2 separate regions of the Homo sapiens genome follow, and region 1 is linked to region 2. Evidence: promoter capture Hi-C in 16 types of primary human blood cells and fetal thymus (Javierre and others, 2016). All regions are on one chromosome and are shown on one strand. Each heading gives the region's core, a stretch centred on a gene start or on the middle of the fragment in contact. The rest is flanking DNA. Distances are from core to core; before and after follow the strand shown. Region 1 has its middle 5.7 kb from the start of AKAP11. Region 2 holds the start of MTRF1 (mitochondrial translation release factor 1).

Region 1 (6,996 bases), core at 98-2,597, 1.0 Mb before region 2:
GGGGAAAACAAATGGCTGAAAAGGAAGGGCCCATCTTTAATTTTTTTCCCTCCATTATGCTACACTGACAACCACCTCTTCTGTCTATTCTTAAAGTCAATTCTGGGAACAGAAAATGAAATTCTACGCAGATACTTATTCTTTAGTGTAAGATTTGAAAAGATAGAGGTTGAAAGCTCAGAAATCAAGAGGATGTTTCACCAAAAGAAACGAATCAGGAGATGAGTTCCAACTCGAAGCTCTGTCATTAGTGATACAACCAAATCAAGGTTCCTTATCACCACTGAGTCTCAGCTTCCTCATACATAAAACAAAGCAATGTAACTAGCCTACACCTAAAGTAGTTAAGCCTGAATTACACTTTAACATGCACATACCAGTAGGACGGAAGCTGGAAAGGGAAATGAAATGATTTTTTATGAAAACCTAACAGAGTCAGCGGCTCAACCCAAATGAAATTAGACACACACACACCAGCTGAATAACTCTGAAAACGGTTGATACAGATACCAGGAATGCTTCCCTAAGAAACCTTGGCCTTCTCAGAGTGTGAAAACGGAAACACCGCCACCTGCTCAACCTCGAATTCCATCTCTCTTAAGCTATTTTGAACCTGTGTAGTATTAAATAATGATTCATGTGTTCCTAATCAGAGTTTAAGAACTAGATAGCAAATACATTTTTTAAAAGGTCTGAGGCAATATCCTAAAGTTAAGCTAACACCTTAATTTTAACGAAAGCAAGATTTCAAGATACATAGGGCTACTTTTTAAAAGGAAAAACGCCAAAAAGAGAAAAAGTACTATTTTAACAAAGTAGGACCATTCTTTTAAAATGTTAATTGAGTATTTTTTGAGTGTTTACAGCCCTCATAATGATTAACTGAAACAGCTGCTTGGTACTACTAATTTAGATGAACTCTGGGCCCAACTCTCCCAATCGAACATGTATTAACAGAGCCCGAAATAAATCCTCCCAACTCACCTTAGCAAGACAGTCATTGTGCTCTCTTGTGCTAGCTACAATTATTTGCAGTACATTAATACAAAGTGAGAAAAAATTAGGATTGAGATCCAGTTCTGCTGTGTCCCCAGTTCCTGGATTCTTTTTAAAACTGTGTTTTTTAACAGTTTTACTGAGATGTAATCCATTTACCATACAATTCAGTGCTTCTGGTAGATTTACAGTTGTGCAACTGTCATCAAAATCTAATTTTAGAAGTTTTGTTCCTCCCTAAAAGAAACTCACATACTCAGTAGCAGCCAATCAACTTTATGTCTATAAAGACTTGCCTATTCTGAAGGTGGAAACCATCATTCTAAGCAAACTATCACAAGGACAGAAAACCAAACACCGCATGTTCTCACTCATAGATGGGAGTTGAACAATGAGAACACATGGACACAGGACACAAGGCGGGGAACATCGCACACCGGGGCCTGTAGGGGGTTGGGGGGCTGGGGGAGGGATAGCATTAGGAGAAATACCTAATGTAAATGACAAGTTGATGGGTGCAGCAAACCAACATGGCACATGTATACCTCTGTAACATGTTGTGCACATGTACCTTAGAACTTAAAGTATAATAAAAATAAAATAAAAAATAAAAAAGACTTGCCTATTCTGGACAGTTCATATAAATGGAGTCATACAATACATGGTCTCTTGGGTCTCACTTCGTTCATTTAGCATGTGTTAAAGGATCATCCATGTTGAAGCGTGTATCAGTACTTCATTTATTTTTTATTGCCGAATAACAGTTCCATTCTATGTATATAGCACAGTTTTATTGGCCAACTTATCAGTTGACAGACAATTCAGTTGTTTCTACTTTTTGGCTATTATGAATAATACTGCTTTGAATATTCCTATACAAATTTTGTGTGGATGTTGCTGATTCTTTTTAATACTCTAAAAAATAGAAGACGTTCTATTTATCCCATTTACAGAGTTCATATTTCTCCTCCTAGCACCGTTCCTTTGCTTCCAGGATTTGTCTTTTTTGCCTGCTGGTTGAAGTATGTGCACTCTATCTCCAGAGGGCTGCCATTTCTACTGCATCTGACCATGCCATTCCCCTGCTTACAATCCTTCAGTGGCTTCTCATGGTTTTCCTCATAATCTGCTTTTCTCCTTTGCTTTCATATCATTCTCCCTTTCAGACTGTCCCCTTTTCAGTTCCTCAAAATAGGACCAGACCCTGCCTGCCTCATCACCTTCCACAGGCTGTTTCTTCAGGATCCAATATTCTTTCTCTGTCCATCCCTGTTAACAGCTGAATGCCCAAGAATCCTTCACCTTTCAACTCTACTGTCACTTCCTCAGGAACTTTCGTCCTAACTCCCCAGACTAAGTAAATCCCCTTTACTTAGGACTCCCTACTTTTTCTTCAACGCATTTATCAACTTATAACAATTTTTATTTGTGTGGTTACCTAGTTAATGTCTGTCTCCCTCCTCCACTGAACTGTGAGATCCATGAGCAAGGGCTGTTTCTGTTTTTGCTTAGGAGTTCCTAAGGCACATAGTAGGTACTCAATAACTATTCAAAAAAAGAGAAGCGGGGAAGGAGGGTGTCTTACCAGACTATTCTTTATTCTCTTTAATTTGTATTGTCAGGAGTCCTCAGTAAAGTCCTGATAAATGCTATAAGCCAAATCTGTGCTATGTTAAGGGAAATGAATGTCAAGGCATGTCCCATGCTTGGGATGTTGCAGCAGGGAGAAAACAGGTGTCCCCTGCTCATACTCCTCACAGAAACGGGGTAGGGAGAGGAGAGACCAGTGGTGTACAAAGGAGCCAGGGCAGCAGGGTGGCAAGTCAGGGAACACAGCCTGTGTCCAAGGGCACCCAAGAGGGTGCCTGGGAACCCCTGTGTGTCTCCTAGGGACATTTTAGTGGGCCAATTTCCAGCAATCAAATTGGTGGTGTCTCCTCCACTGTAATTTTCTAAGTTAATGGAAATATTTCTTTCATTTTTAGACATACTGTAATAGAAACAAGACATTTGGGTTATAGGCACATGAAAGAATTATGACCCAGCAAGGTTGAATGATTTATTCTGGATCACATGGGGCACTAAATGGAATAGTTCAGACTAAAATTAGCTAGTTCGGTCTGGTCCTACCTTTCAACAAAACTAAGCCTAATACACAAAGCTAGCCTCTCAGCTTAATACCCTTGGTGACCTTCTGACTACAAAGGCAGGCATCATCTTTCCCCAGGAGCTTTGGAGCTTTACAGTAGCAGCCTCTGACAGCCAAGAGCAGATTCCATATCGCTTCCTGTTTGAAAACTTGAGTCTCCCTTTGGCCCACTTGCTGAATTCCTGCCTGAGTGATATTTCCTGCCTGAGTGATGGTCCCAGCTGGTGGCTCACTTGTAAAAGTGAGATGTCAAGTCCTTCTTTTCTACATTGTTCAGTTTTAGGACTTTGTTTTTTATGATTATGAATTAATACACACGTTATATAGAACATTAGAAAATACAAGAAAAAATAATGGAGCAGACCAGTTATTTGATGGTTGCTTTACATGTATTATTTAACTTATTATTATTTTGTGTTTGTTTGGAGACAGAGTCTCTGTCACCCAAACTGTAGTGCAGTGACCATAGCTCAGTGTAGTCTTGAGCTCCTAGGCTCAAGTGATCCTCCCCACTTACCTCCAGTGTAGCTAGGACTACAGGTGCGCACTACTGCATCTGGCTATTTTTTAAAATTTTTTGTAGATACAGAGTCTTGCTATGTTGCCCAGGCTGGTCTTGAACTCCTGGGCTCAAGCCTCCCAAAGAGCTGGGATTATAGGCGTGAGACACTGCATCCAGCCAAATTTGTTAATACTTAATAAACCAATGTATTAATAAAACATTCTGAAAGGGGAAAAATGTGGAAATTACAGTTTCATCAGCTGTTTAAATATGTAAAGGTGCTTTTTAAGTTCAAGAGGTGAAATACCTCTTTTATGCCTTCGGTTTGAATGCCTATATATTATATCACAGTCTACTATATACTTTATAATGTACATACTGTCAACCTTAATGAGATTCAGAAAATATGATTCAGTATGGAGTTTATTTGAGCATAAAGCTTGAGGATGACAACCTGGGAACAACAATTCCAGATGAATGGGGTCAGTATTCCAAAGTGGAGAAGTTAAGGTTTCACTTACATAGTCTCAGAGAGAGAAATTTTAGCAGGATTATCACATTTTCCACAGGAGACCAGTGTATTACAGCAATTTGATTGGTTATAGATTGCTACATTCCAAGGAAGATGACTTTATTACTCTGTGAGTAAGAGTAGTGATCTGAGAGGGTCTTATATCTGGTGCCTTTTGATCTTACTAATTATTTACAGAAAAAAAAGAGCAGAAGTTGCAACTGCATGCCGTGTGACTCAGGCTGCAGAGCCATGTTCCTCTCAAGGCACAGAATAATGTAAAGTTCCAACAGCTTTAAGTTTAAATGATTTAATTTCACAGCACTTACCTAATTCTTTTGTAGCGAGTGTCTTTATAAGGATAGAGACACATCTTAACCACTGTTAAAATTATACCTAGTGATATTTTAATACACGGTGGCACTCATTAACTGTTCAATGCTAAAATCATAGAATCCTAACTATACTAATTAGTAAATATAGTACAAATGATAATTCAGAAGTGCCAATCCAAATTAAACACTTCTTGAACAGCAAAATCAATCTGAGTCCTACTATATATTTTACTCAAATATAATGATTCTTCTGATTTAAATCATAGCTAATTACTGAATTATAATACTTCTAATATGTAAAACATAGATGTACCTTCTTTTAAGAAAATGTAATATATACTTGTCCAAAGTTCAAAAACAAGTAATTATGCCTAAATGTAACTAGTTGATAAGATAAAAGAGTTTATTTAAATATCATTGCTCTGCTGATTTTACATGACTGGTTTATAGTTAAATTAGAAGTGCAAGGTATTATAAAAAGCTTATGTTACAGACATTACAAGTTCAAAGAAGCATGAATGTTATCAAGCATTTCAAAAGCATTTAGCATAAGTAAATAATAGTTTAATTTACCATATAAAATTTATACACAACTTTTAAAAAATGTCTTTTGCAAAAAGTGAGATAGACTTCCTCTTCATGTGAGCCAATAGCATACATGCTTACTGCTTTAAAAAAGATGTTAGATGACTTCCCCTGGATTATATATCTAAAGGACAAGGTCAGCTTTTGGAATATTGTCCTAACTTTATGACAAGATAAAACAGATCTTAGAACAAGTTATTTCTGGGTCTGTCATTCCTGTTGCTTAGCTGCTTTGCTTGAAAAATGAAACATTAATTCAAAGTGTCAGTCAGAGCATCCTTATTCATTAGTTAGCTCACATGAAATTTAACAGAAATATCCTTACGTGATTAGATCTTTAAAGGAGGTAATAGTCATGCATATGAAACATGAATATTATTAATACATGCTTACATACGGTACAGAAAGTCATTAAACACTGGGGTAAAAATCTAGGTTGAAAAGTGGTAGAACTTTTAAGACCCCCAAATGCCTCCTAGCCCAGGCTGTAGGAAATCCTTGCTCTATTTGCAATTTTAAGCCACTAAACTACGTTAGAGATATCCAGTCTGTCCCCTTACTAGATTTGATCCCAATTTATTTTGGATTGCCCAAAGTCATCTTGAACACATTTGTTCCCCTTCACCACAATGGAATATGTGAAATCAGCTAAGCTTCTGAAAGATAGACTAGGATTTCTTGATAGCCAATCTTCATGAACATCAAAGTAGCCAACCATTTCTGATTTATTGGTTTACTGGCCTGCAACCCTTTATGGTTAGTCCAATCTTCTTCATCGGAAGGATGCAGCTACCAAAACATGGCAAATGCAACTTTAGGCTACATGAATGCTAGTGTGATGCTCAAGACAAAAGAGGTGCTAGTCCTACTGTACTCTAACTAGTCAGTATGCACCTGCATTAGCCATAGTGAAATATGACCAGAGGTGAGGAGCCTAAGGGAATATCTCATATGTGAAACTTATCTTGTTGGTATTTAACCTGAAGAAGGGGAGACTCAGAGGGATATAGTAAACTGAGGTTGAAATGCTAATGTCTGAGAACTATCTGAGGCTTCCTCTGTCCTTCCAGAGGAAGAGGACAGATTTTTGTTCAATGTGAGGGGGAAAAATAATAATTACCATTATTTTTCAAATAGATGGGTTATCTTTATAAACAATGGGTGTCAAATTTCTTGGCACTTTTGTAATTTATTTAGAAAATTCCCTTTGTAGAGCCCAAATTTATAATTCATAAATTTATATTATAAATGTATAATTTGTCATATTCTGCTCTTTATCTCTAAACTGATTTTACCATTCTTCCTGTTTAAGTGTGTCCTTACTCACATTTGATTGTGCAGGTTAGTATCCTTATCAGTTGGTGTAATAATCTTACAATGATTTTGTTATCTTCAAACAGTATGCCTATAAGCTTACTATAATGGGTATATTAAGATTCCTACAGAGCTCTAGCTTAATAGTATAATGGCCTGTACTTTTTCTATCCTTTTTAGATGGTCAGTAGCTATTCTGAAATTGCATATAAACTCCGGATGAAAGTAATATCTGCAGTAAAATAAGGTCTGATAAAATATCATACTAATTTTCATGTATGGTTTGAGGAAACGGCATTTCTTTTCTGTGAAAGAGAAGCCAACATTTATAAGGTGCTACTTGGGTTTCAGTGTCAAACCCTATGCTCTTCGAAGTTTAATATTAGTCTATATTTTTGTAACTTTAAAAAAATTATTGTGAACACTTCTTGCTCATTTTACTCTTTATGTAATTCTAAGAATTCTCACCTAAGTTCCAGGAAGGAATAAAGTCCTCCACTGAAGTCCACTGAAATGTATACTATGCTATCTGTTTCTTGATCATTACTACCTTTCCACATCAGCCTCCACTGAAGTACCCACATTTCTGCCTGGTCTCTAGCTA
Region 2 (7,683 bases), core at 2,173-4,672:
TGAGACAGAGTCTCGCTCTGTTGGCCAGGCTGGAGTGCAGTGGCCCCTGATCTCAGCTCACTGCAAACTCTGCCTCCCAGGTTCACACCATTCTCCTGCCTCAGCCTCCCAAGTAGCTGGGACTACAGGCGCCTGCCACCACGCCCGGCTAATTTTTTTGTATTTTTTTAGAAGAGATGGGGTTTCACCGTGTTAGCCAGGATGGTCTCGATCTCCTGACCTCGTGATCCACCCACCTCGGCTCCCAAAGTGATGGGATTACAGGCGTGAGCCACTGCGCCCGGCATCACAGGGAAATTTGAACACTGACTGGACATTAGATAATATTAAAAAGCTGTAATTTTCTTAAGAGATAAAGTCTCACTGTTTTTTGTTTTGTTTTTGTTTTTGAGATAGCATGTTGCTCTGTCACCCAGGCTGGGGTGAGGTGGCACCATAGCTCACTGCAGCCTCTACTTCCCAGGTTCAAGTGAGTCTCATGTCTCAGCCTCCTGAGTAGCTGGGATTACAGGTGCGTGCCACTGTGCTTGGCTAATTTTTGCATTTTTAGCAGAGATAGGGTTTCACCGTGTTGACTAGGGTGGTCTCAAACTCCTGGCCTCAAGTGATCCACCCGCCTTGGCCTCCCAAGGTGCTGGGGTTACAGGCGTGAGCCACCACGCCCAGCCCGAGTTCTAAATGTCTAAGTTGTTCTGCATAGTCAGAATAACTTGGCTGCCATAACAAAAAACCATAGACTGGGCCAGGTGCAGTAGCTCACACCTGTAATCCCAGGATTTTAGGAGGCTGGGAGTTTGAGACCAGCCTAGTCAACATAGTGAGACCCCCATCTCTATTTAAAAAAAAATAAAAGCCAGGTGTGGTGGCTCATGCCTGTAATCCCAGGACTTTGGGAGGCTGAGGTGGGCAGATCACAAGGTCAAGAGATTGAGACCATCTGGCCAACATGGTGAAACCCCATCTCTACTAAAAATACAAAAATTAGCTGGGCGTGGTGGTGTGCACCTGTAGTCCCAGCTACTTGGGAGGATGAGGCAGGAGAATTGCTTGAATCCGGGAGACAGAAGTTGCAGTGAGCCAAGATCAGGCCACTGCACTCCAGCCTGGTGACAGAGCGAGACTCCACCTCAAAAAACAAAAAAACAAAAAAACAAAAAACCACCAGCTGGGTGGCCTAAACAACAGAAATTTGTTTCTTAGCCTCTTGCGAGATTGGGAAGTCTAACATCAAGGTGGCAGCAATGTAGGTTTCAGTCTGATACCTCTTCTCTTGGCTTGTAGGTGGCCACCATCTCACAGTGTACTCACGTAACCTCTTCTTTGTTTGGGCAGGGACAGTGAGCAAGATCTCTGGTGCCTTTTTAGAAAGGCACTAATCCTATTATGTCAGGGCTCTACTCTTACGACCTCATCTGACCTTAATCACCTTAAAGGCCCTATCTCCAATACAGACACATGTATTGGAGGGGTTAGGGCTTCAATATATGAATTTTAAAAATAAATATTAGTAATATGCACATGATTATGAATATAAACAATTCAGTCCATAGCAGTAAGACTACTTTTTTTTTTTTTTGAGACGGAGTTTCACTCTTGTTGCCCAGGCTGGAGTGCAATGGTGCAATCTTGGCTCACTGCCACCTCTGTCTCCTGGGTTCAAGCGATTCTCCTGCCTCAGCCTCCGAGTAGCTAGGATTACAAGCATGAGCCACCACGCCCAGCTAATTTTGTATTTTTAGTAGAGATGGGGTTTCTCCATGTTGGTCAGGCTGGTTTCGAACTCCTGACCTCAGGTGATCCACCTGGCTCGGCCTCCCAAAGTGCTAGGATTACAGGCGTGAACCACCACGCCCGACTAAGACTAATTTTTTAAGGAGAATAAAGCTTTATATATAATACTCAAGTTATATAGCTGAAAGCACAAATCAGAATAAATAATTAAAGAACTTTTTGGATAACTTAGGAGAATGACTTTATGTAGACCCTTTGAAACTTTTCCCCTACTGGAACATAAGCTCCATGTGGGCAAAGGTTTTTGTCTTTTCTGTTCATTGCTAAATCCTCATGACTAGAATAGTGAATAGCACATAACTGGTGTTCACTATTTATTGAATACATGATTGAAGGTTTTTTCTTTTTTGGAGCAGGGTGGCCCTATATCAGAGCTTAGGAGCCACAGATCATTAAAGCCATTGCCTTAATTGAGTCTTGGCTCTATCACTTACTGTTTTTTACCTTGGAGTAGTTACTTTAGCTCTGTGTGCCTTAATTTTCTCCTCTGCAAAATAAGTATTTTAAGGTTGTAAAAATTAAATGAATTAATAGGGTAAAACCATTTAGAACAGTATTTAGTACATAGTACATAGAAGTAGGTACCTTGAAGTTGGCTATAAACGTTAGATATTATTTTGCATATATAGCTAATTCTCCTATCTATGTATGTGATTATAATCTAAGAAAATACTCTGTAAAGTCAGTAATATGGTACATTTTTTGCCTTTTCTTTCAGGAAGAAAAATTGAGGCATGGAGATAGAAAGACTGTAAATTGCGATAGCCAAGGGCTGGATCCCACTGGATTAGTCAAAGTAGGACAATATGCTTGCATTTTCCTGCAATTGTTTATTAACTGGAGTTTTCATTCTTCACTTAATCAGTGGTTCATAAGCTATGAATCTAGGTTGAGCCCCTACATTCCCATGTGCAAAGAACATTATAAAATCACTAACATGTGGAAATACACGGTCTCCTAACTTTTGGGGCTGTTACTACTTTTAAAATATAAATTTATTTGTATTATCCTTTAGTCATTAGGTATTTTCTGAAGCAATGGAAGCTGAAAGTATAGAAATTACACGCAGAATCTTCTACATTTGTGGATGATGTAAAAGGAGTCTTTATTTTTTTTAAATATTGGAAAACAGTGCTTTACGGGCTTCTAATACATAAGGAAATTATTGTAATTTCACATGCAATGTGTTCTAAATCTTGATCTCTTAATCAGAATCGTAAAGAATCTCTCTTCTAGGTTTGCAGTTAACGGTGAAAACCAAAAACTCCACATTTGGCTGGATAGTGAGTGGAGGGGGTTGGAGGCTGCCGCAAGGTAAACTACAACTCCCAGGATTCTTTGGTGGGCGCTCTGGGAGTTGTAGTTTAGTCCCACCTTGGCCCCTCCCTCCCTCCCTCCCTCCCACCATCTCCATCCCCGCTCTGGGCTCACGCTCTGGATAAGGACGGCGCGGGGGCGGTTGTCTGATGACAATTTCATTCTCGTTTTGTCATTTTTCTCATTTAGCTCATTTTTGTCATTTTAGTCCATTGTTAGGCATGCTCGAGGACAACTCCTCCGGAGAGCGGTAGTGGCGGAGGAGGGGCCGGGAGCGTGCGTTAACCCGGAAGAAGTGAACCAGGAAGTGAACGTGATCTCGGGTTTGTCGGGCTGAAATGTGGCGGGTCTCGGAAGGTTCCGACCTCAGTAAAGAGAGCTAACGTGTATTCTTCTTTTTCTTAGGTACTCACAGTTCTTTCCTGATCTTCCCCGCCGCCTCCTGTATTGCCTCTTTATGGAATCACTCCATATACTGAGTTACACAGCATGGTTTGCCCGTGCTGCTGCCCCGCGGGCTGTCGCTTCTGACCTGCCTACACTCAGAACTTTCCCCAAAGCATCAGAGTAATACTGTTACTGTGATGGGTAATGGAGAAGTCGTGCTGTTCTCAGGTGTAGTTAACCTTGGAGAGTAAACATCTTGTTTTGTTTTGTTTTCCTTAATGTTGAGATTCATGACCTTGAAAATTATGCATTCTACTACTGTTCCTAAAATGGAAATTTTAGCAATAAGTATTCGTACAAACATATATTTGTCATCCTTTTATTCTGTCTGTTAGCAAATGGATACACTTTCTCTAACGTGCTTGAAATACGGGGGTGGTGGAGTGTAACGTTTGTGACAGCTGGCCATTGGTGCTTTCTTCAACAGTTCTTTTAATAATGTGATGCAGTATCCTAAAATCTATCAGTAGAACTCTGGAAACTGAATATTTTAAAGACCATTCTGACTATTTTATTTCCTAGGTGATAATGCTAAGTTAACAGACTTATAGTGAACAAATGAGCTAATATATCAATGCACCTCCTAGCATAGTAGGATCACTGGAGACAGTAAAGTTTGATTTTGATAAATGTTGATCCTTCTTTTTTTGAGTTGAGTCTCACTGTGTTGCCCAGGCTGGCCTTGAACTCCTTGGCTCAAGTGATCCTCCTGCCTCAGTCTCCTGGGTAGCTGGGACAATAGGTGCATGCTACTGTGCGTGGCTTGACCCTTATTTCAACTTTGAACCTTAGAGTTTTCTTAGAACACTTTATATTCTCCCTTTCTTACTCAGTAAGACCATTGTGTACTTTTGTTAGCTCTTGATTATCTCTGTTGGAGGGGAGGAGAACAGAAAATTATTGTACACAGCCAATTTCACCTAACCTGTAATTTTTTAAACTAATCTTTTTTTATGATTAGGAAAGTATTCCATGCTACATGTGCAAGAAACTTGGAAAACACTGAAAAGTAGAAAAAATAGCAAGCAAAAGGTATTCATAATCTCACAACTAGAGATCATTTTATTAACATTTTGGTATGTTTCTTTTTTTTTTTTTTTTTTTGAGACAGCGTGTTGCTTTGTCGCCCACGCTGGTTGCAGTGGTGCGATCTCAGTTCACTGCAACCTTCGCCTCCCAGGTTCAAGCGATTATCCTGCCTCAGCTTCCCGAGCAGCTAGGACTACAGGTGTGTGCCATCACGCTCAGCTAATTTTTTTGGTATTTTTAGTAGAGATGGGGTTTTCCCATGTTGGCCAGGCTGGTCTCGAACTCCTGACCTCAGATGATCTGCCCGCCTCGGCCTCCCAAAGTGGTAGGATTACAGGCGTGAGCCACTGTGCTCGGCACATTTTGGTATGTTTCTTATTTAACTTTCTTTTTAAAAAATACTCTATGTGCTTTTTTTTTTTTACATGTATACCTTATATTGTAGAATATTTTTTAAATGTAATTGAGATTCTATTTTGTTCCTTGCCTTTCTTGCTTAATATAATTGTCACCATTTAATATAACTGTAGAGCTTTTCACCAGCCCTACTTTCTTGGTCTATTAATACTTGAACTTTTCTTCCTTTAGGATCTCAGCTAAACGGGAAGCATTTTTGAAAAGTGATTGCACAATTGAGAGTGAAAATTACTGAGTCCTGAACAGGCAACTTACATTCTAATACCAGCTCTGTCTCCATCCAGCCGACTGAATAGTCGTGATTAAGTTACTTGACTTCCTTGGATATCTAGATCCTTAAAGTTAAAGAATTATACAAGATAATAATATTTTCTTCAAACTTTAGAAAATGACTTTATGAACCGCCTTAAGTTTGTATGTTTTCATAGCTTTCAAGAGCTTGTTTACACACTCAATTCTAGATTCTAGATACTTTCTAGAAAATAACTGACTTAACTCATTCAATTGATATATTTGTTAGTTGTACTCCTACTCATATGCTTCAGTTAATTATATATGTTGAACAGGTAGGAAGCAGTGCTGTTTTTATTTATTTTAATATGTTATTCATACATTTGAAGAATTATGTTCTTTCTGTAGGCAGCTGAATTTTTTTTTTTTTTGAGACGAAGTCTTGGTATTGTCCCCCTTGCTGGAGTGCAATGGCATGATCTCGGCTCACTGCAACCTCTGCCTCCTGGGTTCAGGCAATTCTCCTGCCTCAGACTCCTGAGTAGCTGGGATTACAGGCGCCTGCCACCACGCCCGGATAATTTTTGTATTTTTAGTAGAGACAGTGTTTCACTATGTTGGCTGGGCTGGTCTCGAACTCCTGCCCTCAGGTGATCCGCCTGCCTCAGCCTCCCAAAGTGCTGGGATTACTGGCGTGAGCCACTGCTGCCAGCCGGCAGTTGAATTTTAAGACTGTGGAGCTGGCTGAGGCAGTAGATGAAACAAGATTTCTTGATGTTCCTTCCAGGTTTATTATGCATGTATCTTTAGAGATGATTTTTTTTTAAAGACTGTGTTTATTGTATTTCAGATGCTGAGATGAATCGTCACCTGTGTGTTTGGCTTTTTAGACATCCATCTCTTAATGGTTACCTCCAGTGTCACATCCAGCTCCATTCTCATCAATTTAGACAGATACATCTTGATACAAGGCTGCAAGTTTTTAGACAAAACAGGAATTGCATTCTTCATCTGTTAAGTAAGAATTGGTCCAGGAGATATTGCCATCAAGACACCAAGATGCTCTGGAAGCATAAAGCACTACAGAAATATATGGAGAACCTGAGTAAGGAGTACCAAACACTTGAGCAATGTCTGCAGCATATCCCTGTGAATGAGGAAAACCGAAGGTCCTTGAACAGAAGGCATGCTGAGTTGGCACCTCTTGCAGCCATTTACCAAGAAATTCAGGAGACTGAACAAGCAATTGAAGAATTAGAATCAATGTGTAAAAGTAGGTAAAAGATACTTATGTGTCCTGCATAAGGGCTATGAAAAAAAAAACCACACACTTATATGCGTGTGTGTAAGTACAGATTTGATTTTCTAAGTTAAAGCTTTATTGAACTTAGTCTTTGTTTTTTTTTTCCCACAGAAGCAGGTTCTCACTTGTTGCCCAGGCAGGAGTGCAGTGACTCAATCGTAGCTCACTGTAACCTGTAAGTCCTGGCCCCCCACTTCAGCATCCTGAGTAGCTAGGACTATTGTGCCAGGGCTTTCCAAAGCGATATGATTATAGCCACCGAGCCACTGAGGCTGGCCTGAACTCAGTCTTTTAAAAAAACCTACAAGTAATAAGCTCAACACTTGGAAAGAACAGGACTCTGTACCCAGAGTATTTGACACACTTTAGCTACTAAAGATCAATGTACTAAGTAAACAGGCTCCTCGTGGTACTTCCCGTGGTCTCAAGGTCTGGGAGACAAAATGTTGGTCTTTTCAGAAGCTTTATTTTATTGAGCAGACCTTTATTGAACACTGTACCTACATACTAGGGCTACACATACAGTTCCTACCCCATCAGTGGGCTTCTATGGTCCAGTGAGAGAAACTTATTTAAGTATTGTTTATAATGTGAGACCTGCTCTACTAGAGGGAGGCACAGTTTCATGGGAGCAAAGAGGAGAGGGCACTCAAACCAGCCTGGATTGATTGGGTAAATCTTCCTGGAGGGGACTGCGCATTAGTGGAACCAGGAAGGAAGCTTTTATTTTTTATTTTTATGTTTTTTTTTTTTTTTTTTTTGAGACGGAGTCTCGCTCTGTCGCCCAGGCTGGAGTGCAGTGGCGGGATCTCGGCTCACTGCAAGCTCCGCCTCCCGGGTTCACGCCATTCTCCTGCCTCAGCCTCCCAAGTAGCTGGGACTACAGGCCCCTGCCACCATGCCCAGCTAATTTTTTTTGTATTTCAGTAGAGACGGGGTTTCACCATGTTGGCCAGGCTGGTCTCAAACTCCTGATCTCAAGTGATCCACCCACCTTGGCCTCCCAATGTGCTGGGATTACAGGCATGAGCCACCATGCCCAGCCAGTACTTTATTTCTTTTCATTACTGAATTATATTCCATTGTATGGATATACCACATTTTATTTATCCATTCATCAGTTGATGAACATTGAGTTGTTTCCACTT

Evidence for each region. Contacts are between HindIII fragments. The CHiCAGO score rates a contact against its expected background, and 5 or more counts as called.
Region 1: a fragment that was not itself captured here is called in contact with the fragment with the promoter of MTRF1 in region 2 in 1 of 17 cell types (fetal thymus); the score reaches 5.0 in fetal thymus.

Annotation. Positions count from the first base shown.
Region 1 is chr13:42,262,947-42,269,942 of GRCh38, reverse strand. No RefSeq gene overlaps it. Among named protein-coding and RNA genes, the nearest start is that of AKAP11, 5.7 kb to the left of the region's middle. The HindIII fragment of the contact is 5,483 bases long and covers 1-4,088 here.
Region 2 is chr13:41,259,315-41,266,997 of GRCh38, reverse strand. MTRF1 (mitochondrial translation release factor 1) reads left to right here and starts at 3,422. Exons shown (of 10, transcript NM_004294.4): 1 at 3,422-3,513; 2 at 6,083-6,505. The coding sequence starts at 6,091. RefSeq lists a silencer at 3,127-3,216 and an enhancer at 3,504-4,004. The HindIII fragment of the contact is 4,724 bases long and covers 1,887-6,610 here.